Linked DNA regions of Homo sapiens: region 2 is linked to region 1. The links are contacts of gene promoters, found by promoter capture Hi-C in human tissues and cell types (Jung and others, 2019). All regions are on one chromosome and are shown on one strand. The core of a region is centred on a gene start or on the middle of the fragment in contact, and the rest is flanking DNA. Distances in the headings are between cores, read along the strand shown.

Evidence for each region. Contacts are between HindIII fragments. The study calls those that stand out against the background at their distance.
Region 2: a fragment that was not itself captured here is called in contact with the fragment with the promoter of CNDP1 in region 1 in 1 of the 25 tissues and cell types used here (spleen).

Annotation. Positions count from the first base shown.
Region 1 is chr18:74,533,006-74,537,793 of GRCh38, forward strand. CNDP1 (carnosine dipeptidase 1) reads left to right here and starts at 1,495. Exons shown (of 12, transcript NM_032649.6): 1 at 1,495-1,686. The coding sequence starts at 1,663. The HindIII fragment of the contact is 24,351 bases long and covers 1-4,788 here.
Region 2 is chr18:74,275,710-74,281,046 of GRCh38, forward strand. All of the region lies in intron 1 of CYB5A (cytochrome b5 type A), which reads right to left. Among named protein-coding and RNA genes, the nearest start is that of CYB5A, 14 kb to the right of the region's middle. RefSeq lists an enhancer at 275-444. The HindIII fragment of the contact is 5,984 bases long and covers 1-4,395 here.

The sequences.
Region 1 (4,788 bases), core at 245-2,744:
CTGCAAGAGTTATTCAGAGAGAAATGATGCAAAAGAATCCCAGTCCCCCAGAAAAGCCCCGGGACCCCTCAACCCAAGGCTCTGGCCTGTGCCCTGCTGCCTCCTTTTCTCTACTGTCCCCTGACCTTCCCACCAAAATTTATATGTTGACATCCTAACCCCCAAGACCTCAGAATGTGACCTTCTATGGAGATAGGGTCATTGCAGATTGAATTACTTATCTTTAGATAAGGTCACATGGGCATAGGATGGACCCCTGATTACACACAACTGTGTCCTTATGAGAAGGGACAATCTGGACACACACACATACACAGGGAGAACATCATAAGAAGATGAGGGCAGAGATCGGGTGATGCTTGTACAAGACAAGGGACACCAAGGACGGCCAGCAGCCACGCGGGTCAAGGCCTGGAGCACGCCCTTCCCGCTCAGCCTCAGGAGAAACCTGCCCTGCCCATACCTTCATCTCAGACTTCCAGTCTCCAGAATTGAGACCGATTTCTGTTGCTTAAGCCACCCAGTGTAGGGTACTTTTGTTAGAGCAGATGTTGGGGCTCAGAAGCCAATACCCCAAAATATGGTGCTTTGTTCAAGCTGAACTGAAAAGGAACTTCAAGGCCTCTCGGCTCCCCCACCCCCACCATCTCTCCCAGAGTTCCTGAAGTGTCCTTATCTCCTTCAAGTCTGACCCACCAAAGAAGAAAGGAATGACCTCTAGTCCCTTCCCTGAGTTTTCGTTAACTGAACCCATATCTCAGGAAGGAAGGCTGACACCGAACACGCTGGACAGACTTGTCAAGACCATTGTCTGCTCCGGGGCCCAGCAGACTTGAACGAAGACCGTGGCGTGCTCTTCAAGCCCACTGAATCCTCCCTCGTGAGCGCTGATTGCCCTCAGCTGAAGTCCTCTTTTCTCCTCCCATAACCTGTTGCGCGAGAATCTAAGCCGCCACTCCTTGTGGAACCTCAAGAGGGTGTCTCAGCTTCCCAACCCCATTAGGGATTGGTCCTTCCTTCTGAAGGCTCCCATGTCACTTAAAACTAGGAGCAAATCAATCTGTTATGCCTCTTCTCCAATTCAACTGCCCTTTGCAAGCTGATTTTGCAGCGAACCTTCAGAGAGCTGGGAAAACTCTACCCTCGGCCCCTGCACAGCCCTAGGAAGCTAATCCTCGGCCGTAACATTCCATCACAAGGGCCCACAGCCACAGTGTGTGGGGGCCTGTCATGTGAGGGGGCTGTCACCTGAGGGGGCTGTGCCGCTGGCTCAGCTCTGCCTGCTGGCCGGGGCCCTACTCCCTCTCAGAGATGACACACAAGTGCCCCCAAAGAAGAACCCGAGGAGTCGCAGGCTGGGCCAGGCTGCTGGCTTCCAGTGACATCACATGACTTTGGGGCCACTGCCTCATCCCGTATCTGCGCGTATGAGATGCATTGTCTCTTCCTCTGCAGTTGAGCTGAATGAATACCTCCGAAGCCGCTTTGTTCTCCAGATGTGAATAGCTCCACTATACCAGCCTCGTCTTCCTTCCGGGGGACAACGTGGGTCAGGGCACAGAGAGATATTTAATGTCACCCTCTTGGGGCTTTCATGGGACTCCCTCTGCCACATTTTTTGGAGGTTGGGAAAGTTGCTAGAGGCTTCAGAACTCCAGCCTAATGGATCCCAAACTCGGGAGAATGGTGAGTAGGACCTCCTCCATCAGAGTCCGTGCATTGGGTGCCAGAATTCCATTTGTCCCGGGAGCATGTGCGTTAAGCCCAGTTGGGCAGGGCAGGCACCCAGCGTGGCCCCAGATGCTGCTCCTCATGGTGTTCTTAGGTGCTGTCTTGGCCGAGGAATGTGGTATTTGGAATTATATTTTATCAGTAATGCTTTTGGGTAGTTGTGTGTTCTTAACAATAATTAAATGGCATTATTGTCAAGTAGTTCATATTCAAATTGTTCATGAACTCAGTCTTCTTAAATCAATTTTTTTCTGTACTTTTTCTCTTTAAAAAAAATGAGTTTGCTTCCTGGAAGAATTTGCCTAAATAATGGTAACAGACAGTGTGCTGTTTGTCCTGGTCCCAGGTTCCCGACTTAAGGGCTAGTTTGCAAGAGCTAATCACCGGGCTAAATCACCCCAGGCCTTTCTCGGCGAGGTTTCCATGGTTCAGGTGCAAACCTGAGTGTGGGTGTGGCGGGAAGGCTTCTCTCTAGGAAAACAAGCAGGCAGGTACCTTTGGCTGTGAGGTTTTGTGGGGTTGTGTTCCAGACTACTTGGAAAGATAAAATTCATGGACGCTTTTTATTTCCATTGCAAACACACACATACACACACAGAAATTTTCAGAATTTTGTGGAAGGTTGATACGTAGAAGACTCTCAAAAGACATACTGAAACAAATACATGCAAATGCGAGGCTGGAGACACAGTGAGCAGGCAGGTGGTGACCTGACCACAGCCGGATTCTAGAAGTGGGCTTTGCCCACCTGCAAGACCATGAGATTCCCACACCATGCTGCAAAATCACTGCTCTGAGAGAAAGAACCTCACCCTGTGGTCTGGCCATGCTTTCCATTGCTGACTTTTTTTTTTTTTTAAAGAACCCATGACTGGCCAGGGCATTGGGGTGGGGGTTAGAAGAGGACATTTCACTGAATACTGTCTTACTTTAAAAAATCTTTAAACTGTGTCATGATAGTATCTATTCAAAACATTAAAGTTAAAAGCAACATGAAAGAAAATAATTTCCCTGGCTGGGCATGGTGGCTTATGTCTGCAATCCCAACACTTTAGGAGGCCAAAGCAGGAGGATCACCTGAGCCCAGGAGTTCAAGACTGGCCTGGGCAACATAGTGAGACCCTGACTCTACAAACAATTTTAAAAGTAGCCAGGCAGGGTGGAGCATGCCTGTGGTCTCAGCTACTCAGGAGACCAAGGTGGGAGGATGGCTTGAACCTGGGAGGTCGAGGCTGCAGTGAGCCATGGTTGCGCCACTGCACTCCAGCCTGGGAGGCAGAGTAAGACCCTGTCTGAAACAAAAAAGAAGGAAATATTTTGTTTTGGACTCAATATAATACCCTTTGATATGAAAGAGAGGAAGAGATTGTACTATATATTTTCCCCTTTGCTATTCTTTTACTTTTTTTTAACTTTTATTTTTGGTTTAGCAGTACATGTGCAGGTTTCTTACATAGGTAAATTTGTGTCATGGTGATTTGTTGTACAGATTATTTAATCACCCAGGTATTAAGCCTAGTACTCATTAGTTATTTTTGCTGATCCTCTCCCTCCTCCCGTCCTCCACCCATAGGCCCCAGTGTGTGTTGTTCTCCTCTATGTGTCCATGTGTTCTCATCATTTAGCTCCCACTTACAAATGAGAACATGCAGTGTCTGGTTTTCTGTTCCTGCATTAGTTTGCTAAGGATGATGGCCTCCAGCTCCATCCATATTCCTGCAAAGGACATGATCTCATTCTTTTTTATGGCTGCATAGTATTCACCATGGTGTAGATGTACCACATTTTCTTTACCCAGTCTGTCATTGATGGACATTTAGGTTGATTCCATGTCTTTGCTATTGTGAATAGTGCTGCAGTTAACATTCACATTCATGTGTCTTTATAGTAGAATGATTTATATTCCTCTGAGCATATAACCCAGTAATGGGATTATTGGGTCAAACGGTAGTTCTGTTTTTAGCTGTTTGAGGAATTGCCACACTGCTTTCCACAATAATTGAACTAATTTACACTCCTACCAACAACGTATAAGTTTTCCCTTTTCTCTGCAACCTCACTTGCATCTGTTATTTTTTGACTTTTTAATACAGTTGTTTGATGTGAGATGGTATCTCATTGTGGTTTTGATTTGCATTTCTCTAATGATCAGTGATACTGAGCTTTTTTTCATATGCTTGTTGGCCACATGTATATCTTCTTTTGAAAAGTGTCTGTTCATGTCCTTTGCCCAGTTTTTAATGGGATTGTTTGTTTTTTCTTGTAAATTTGTTGAAGTTCCTCGATACTGGATATTAGATCTTGGTCAGATGCATAGTTTGCAAATATTTTCTCCTATTCTGTAGGTTGTCCGTTTACTCTGTTGATAGTTTCTTTTACTGTGCAGAAGCTCTTAAGTTTAATTAGATTCTATTTGTCAATTTTTGCTTTTGTTGCAATTGCTTTTGGTGTCTCTGTCATGAAATCTTTGCCTGTTCCTATGTCCAGGATGGTATTGCCTAGGTTGTCTTCCAGGGTTTTTAGAGTCTGGGGTTTTATGTTTAAGTCCTTAATCCATCTTGAGTTGATTTTTGTATATGATGTAAGGAAGGGGTCCAGTTTCAATCTTCTGCATATGGCTAATGGCTAGCCAGTTATCCGAGCATCATTTATTGAATAGGGAGTCCTTTTCCATTGCTTGTTTTTGTCGCTATTGCTGACTTATTACCATCACCTTTTTCTAATACTGAGAGAGAAAAGAAAGTCATCAATTCTATTCTTGGGATCTTGAGCCCAAGATTGGGCAAACTCTTTCTTTTACTGTGACACAGATCAAATGCCCATCAACAGCTAGGGTGGATCCCTGGCTGTGGCCCAGGGGGACTGGATGAGGTTTGGGGAGCTGGACCACAGGATGCAGAGGGGGCTCTGTGCTGTGGGCACTCACCCTTTGGATGGGGCACATGCAGTGAGCATGTGTGATGTGCCTCCTCTGTGCTCTAGTGCCCAGGCCCAGTCACTCCGGGCAAAGAGTGGTACCTGGGATATGGACTCTGGGACCAGGAAGCTCCTCTGGGG
Region 2 (5,337 bases), core at 154-2,653, 260 kb before region 1:
GAGGAACATGAAGGGGCATCCGAATTGTTGCCTGAACACAGCAGAGTCTGGAAAAGCGGGAGCTATTAAAAAATAACCTCAGCCCCTTTAGAATAGTTAGGATGTGGATCAATAGAGCAGATAAATAAAGATGAAGAAGCTGAAAAGGAGAGGCTTGAAGAACATGCTGGAGGAGCCGTCGCCACACAGTAGGGTGGCCAGGGAGGACCCGGCGGTGCGCAGACCAGATACCCCAACACCAGCGCGGCACCGGGATCTGACCCAGCCCAGAGGCGTCTCCAACCCCATTTCTCCCCCTCGACCCAACACAAGCTCCAGCCTTAATACTTAACTCCCTCAGCTTCCTGCACAGCCCACTATCCTCCACCTCCTCTGTGAGCCTGGCATCAAAACCAGGCAACTGACCTGGAGATCTTGACTCCAAACGGTAGGGTGAAGGTGAAAAATCCCAGAGGCTTAGAGGTGCAAAGGACCTTCAGAGACTCAACATCCTAAATTTTCAGACAGAGAAAATGGGACGCAGAGGAATGAAGCCCAGTGCCACACTGATAGCTCACGAGGGAGGTGGGACGGGAACCCTGCTTTCTGACTTTGAGAGTTCAGTTCCCCCCACCTTTTTTTCTGAACATGCAAATAAAGTGACCATTTTTACATTTCTGAACAAAGTATCTTTAAATATAAAAAGATGTCTTAAAAATAAAGTTTCTTCATAAATTTCCCTTTTGAGAATTTGGGAGAAAACTTCACAGACTTCTAAACCTCAAGAAATTTTGTCATCTGCCCTGCCTTTCTGGGTCTTACGAAGTACAAAAGATTCAGCACACACACACACACACACACACACACACACACACCCTTCTGTCAGGGTTCCACTTGACTACAAGGTTGTCACTATTAAACAGTCAAAAGCGTATGCAAAACGACACTACAATATGACAATCTGCAGCAGGTCAAAGTCATGCCTTCGGAGGGTTTGCTTAACCAAGCAAAAATGAACCGAACCCAGGGGAATGAACGCAGGCCGCCTGACTCCACACCAGGTCTCCTAACCACTGTATGTACTAAGAGGAGAGCCACTTTAACAGGCGTCTAAGTCGAGATGATTCCCGTGTCCCTCAGGCACAGTCTGTTTGGCAGCTACCCATCTGCAGGATTAAGTCATATAATTAATTAGTAGACTCCTTGGCAAGTAAGAGAAGTTCGAGAAAGACAACCATAACAAAAAACCCTTTTCACCTAAATGCAATGCTAAGTGACTGAAGTCCATCCATTCTGGAGTTTTAAACAGGATCTTTCATTCCAAATGCTTAACATACCAAAAAAGGTGGAGTACAGAGATTGTCCATAAACAACAAGTAGGCAAAAACAACCTTTAATTTAAAGAGCTTATCTGCAATAGTTAAGCCCAAAATGAAAACAATTCAAAAGAGTTTGGAGAATGAACAATTGATGCAAGATTTAGAATAAGATAACAAGATGCCCTGACCAAACATTTCCTATCATTTCTGGATGCTGTTTTTCTAAGACGGGAAAGGGTGATGGCCTCAAAGTTGGTTTGAGTTCATCAGACTTCTGTCCTGCTCCATTCTGGACTCTGTGGAGGGGCCAGCATCTGCATGGGGCACCAACTCGGGGCTTCATATCCACCCTCTCACTGTATCCCCATAAGCCTTGATGGAATTACTTCCCATTTCACCTAGAAGGTCATGGCATGAAACTAAAGAGGCCCCTCTGGCAGTCACCCAGCTTGCCTATGGGACCCACAAACTCATTCAAACATCTGATGAATGCCAAGCCATGCTCTGTTGCTACCAAAATGGCAAAGTCATGGCCCCACCCTCAAGAAGTTAGAGTCTAGTAAGGAAACTGACATGTAAACAGATAGCTAAATGTGGCGAGCATCAGGTGCAGGAGTCATGGCACAAAAGATGGAGGGATTAACTCTCCCAGGAGTGTGAGGCAGAGAAAAGGCCCAGGAGGGGTCACTCAGGAGGCAACGCTTAGACTCTGTGTGAACATTTCAGCAGGAGCTCGCCAGGTGAGCAAGGGGAGGCATCCCAAGCCCGGGACACAGACACATAGAGGCCCTGAGGCAGAACACAACGGTGTCATGGAGGATACAGGGGTAACTTTATATGGCTCAGGTGAGGGCTTGGGTCTCCAGTGAGAAATTAACCCAGAAAGCCCAGACTGGAAGAGAGCACCTGGAGTTTCTGCCGAAGATCTCTGCATTTCACAGCCTGAACAAATGCCTTCAATTTCTCTCCTTTCCACTCTAGCAGCCAGGGAAAAAGTCTAGGGACAAATAATGATGAATATCAGTGGGTAACATCTAATAAATGCTCACTGTGTATAGGGAAGTATTCTGAGCACTTGTGTGGACCCTTCTAAAGCTCATAAGCCCAAGAGGCAGGCATTACCATTACTATCCCCACTTTACAGACAGAGGTGACGGAGCCAGTTAGGGGAGGCCCTGGGGAATGAACGCAGGCCGCCTGACTCCACGCCAAGTCTCCTGACCACTGTGTGTACTGAGAGGAGAGCCACTTCGCTGAGATCTGCTAACAGGGGTCTAAGTCCAGATGATTCCTGAGTCCCTCAGGCACAGTCTATCTGGCAGCTACCCATCTGCAGGATTAAGTGAATTAATTAGCAGACTCCGTGGCAAGTAAGAGATGTTCGAGAAAGATCAGTTCACTTTTCCTTCTTCCTCATCCCCATTTTATATTGCCACAGAGACTATGTATAGTCCCTGGCACAGTTCCTGGCCTTTGTAAATTGCTGAAGGCCAATTCCAGCACCAAACCCAAGGGACCCCCTTCTCACCACCTCTCCTTCATCTTCAAAAGTTATCTCTGGATTTAATCAACTGGCTGGATTCTCCTGAATCACAGAACCAAATGGCACACATTCACAGAAACATCCTATGATAAAAATAATAGACATTTCTACATGAGATGGTTCTTAAAGGTTAGTTAGGCCAAGGGCAGACAGGTCTTATGCACAGCCTGTGAGCTGGCAATCATCCTGCAGAATGCTGTTAGAATTTCCTCTTCTTGAAAAAGAGAAACAAAATTCTTCTTAATTACTTTTAGAACTGAATTAGTAAATGTTTGGTCTAAAACGTACTGGTAACCAAATTTTGGTCACTATGCCCTGACCAGTATTTCAACTTCTACCATTACTACACTTGTCTCATTGGATAAAATAAAGCAGGTGTGCTAATTCTTCCTCTAATCTCTGAAGAGTACATAAGCCACCAATTCTGACATGATGACCTTGGGGTACAGGGAAGGACCAGGGACAGGCCTGCTTCTGAGGGACAAGAGCAGGAGGGCACTGTGGCACCAGTCCTGCCAGGCCCAGAGCTGCCACAGCTTACCTCCTGCTTTGTAACCCAATGCAACCCGATGTCCTCAGAGGAATATGCAAGCCACCAAAACTGGGGGCCCAGTGGTAGATGAGTGATGACCTAAGAGAGGCTGTTACTCTAACTACGATCTATCTTAAGCTGGAATGGCCAAAAGATGAGACAAGGCCGGGCGCGGTGGCTCACGCCTATAACCCCAGCACTCTGGGAGGCCAAGGCAGGCGGATCACCTGAGGTCAGGAGTTTGAGATCAGCCTGGCCAACAAGGCAAAACTCTGTCTCTACTAAAAAATACAAAAATTAGCCAGGCATGGTGTCAGCCACCTGTAATCCCAGCTACTCAGGAAGCTGAGGCAGGGAGAACTGCTTGAACCCGGGAGGCAGAAGTTGCAGTGAGTTGAGATCGTGCCACTGCACTCCAGCCTGGGCGACAGAGTGAGACTCCGTCTCAAAAATAAATAAATAATAAATAAAAATAAATAAAAAACAAAAGAGATAATAGAATAGCCTACGCTCAGCCCAGAGGTGGAAAGAAAGCAGGATTGACAGTGGCATGTGCCCATCTCTCTCTTTTGTTTTTTTTCCTCTCAATGCCAAATAACTAGGCCTCTCTTTCATGTTTAATCATAATAAACTGGGTTGAAATATGCAGGTGAGACAAAGGAGAAATAAAATAAGGTATCAGAAAATTATTCAATGTCACCCAGCAGCCATTCCACATCAGCTTTCTAGTATTTTATATTTATAAACTTTTAATTCTTATTCAATCAATAAATAACTATTTAGTCCTTTCTATGTGCCAGCATTGTTCTAAAAACTGGATTTATCAGTGAATAAAAGAGAAAAAGTCCTGCATTCACAGAGCATACATTTCTAGTGGAAGGACACAGAGAAGCAAAAACTAATAAATGAGTACATTATACCGTATGTTACAAGGTAATACATGCTACAGGGAAAAACTCAGCAGCATAACTGGGCTCAGCAGTGCAGGGGGCTGGGGTAATATCCAGGCTTAAATACGGTGGTCAGGTGATAGTGTTGAGGTGATAGTGAGTGAGTACTCAAAGGAGGTGAGGCAGGGAACCATATGTTATTTGGGGGGAATAACCTTCCAGTGCAAAGAATTGAAAATGGATCACATTTCTACTACATCTAAGAATTCTTTGCCTAATCCTAAGTCACCTTAAAAAGTTTCACATGTCGGCCAGGTGCAGTGGCTCATGCCTGTAATCCTGGCACTTTGGGAGGCCAAGGCAGGTAGACCACTTGAGCCTCAGAAGTTTGAGACCAGCTGGCAGCTGGGCAACACGGCAAAACCCTGTCTCTACAAAAAAAAAAAAAAAGGGAAATTAGCCAGGCATGGTGGTGCACACCTGTAGTCCTCGCTACTTGGGAGGCTGAGGTTGGAGAATCACCTGAGTCCAGGTGGTGGAGGCTGCAGTGAACCGTGATCATGCCATTGCACTCCAGCCTGAGTGACAGAGTAAGACCCTGTCTCAAAAAAAAAAAAAAAAAGTTTTACATTTTATATTTAGATCTATGATCCATTCTGAGTTAATTGGCATAAGGTGTGAGGTTTCAGTCAAGGTTTATGTTTTTGGTTATTGATGTCCAGTTGTTCCAGAATTATGTGCTGAAAAGGCTATCCTTCCTCTATCGACTTGCTTTTCCATCTCTGTCAACAATGAGGTGGAAATCTTTGTGCGAGTCTATCTCTGGCCTCTCTATTCTGCTACATGGACATACGTATGTGTCCCTCTGCCAGAACTACACTTTCCTGACAACTGCAGCCATATCCTAAGTCTTAAAATGGGGCAGTGTAATCAGCCCTTGAAGGGTTTAAACAGAGTATACGGACTGACCCCATCTGACTTTAAAATGTCACTCTATTATGGTGAGAATATGCTGTCGGGGGCAGGAGGGGACCACGCGAGAGAAGATGGAGGCTCCAACCAGGGGAGCAGCAG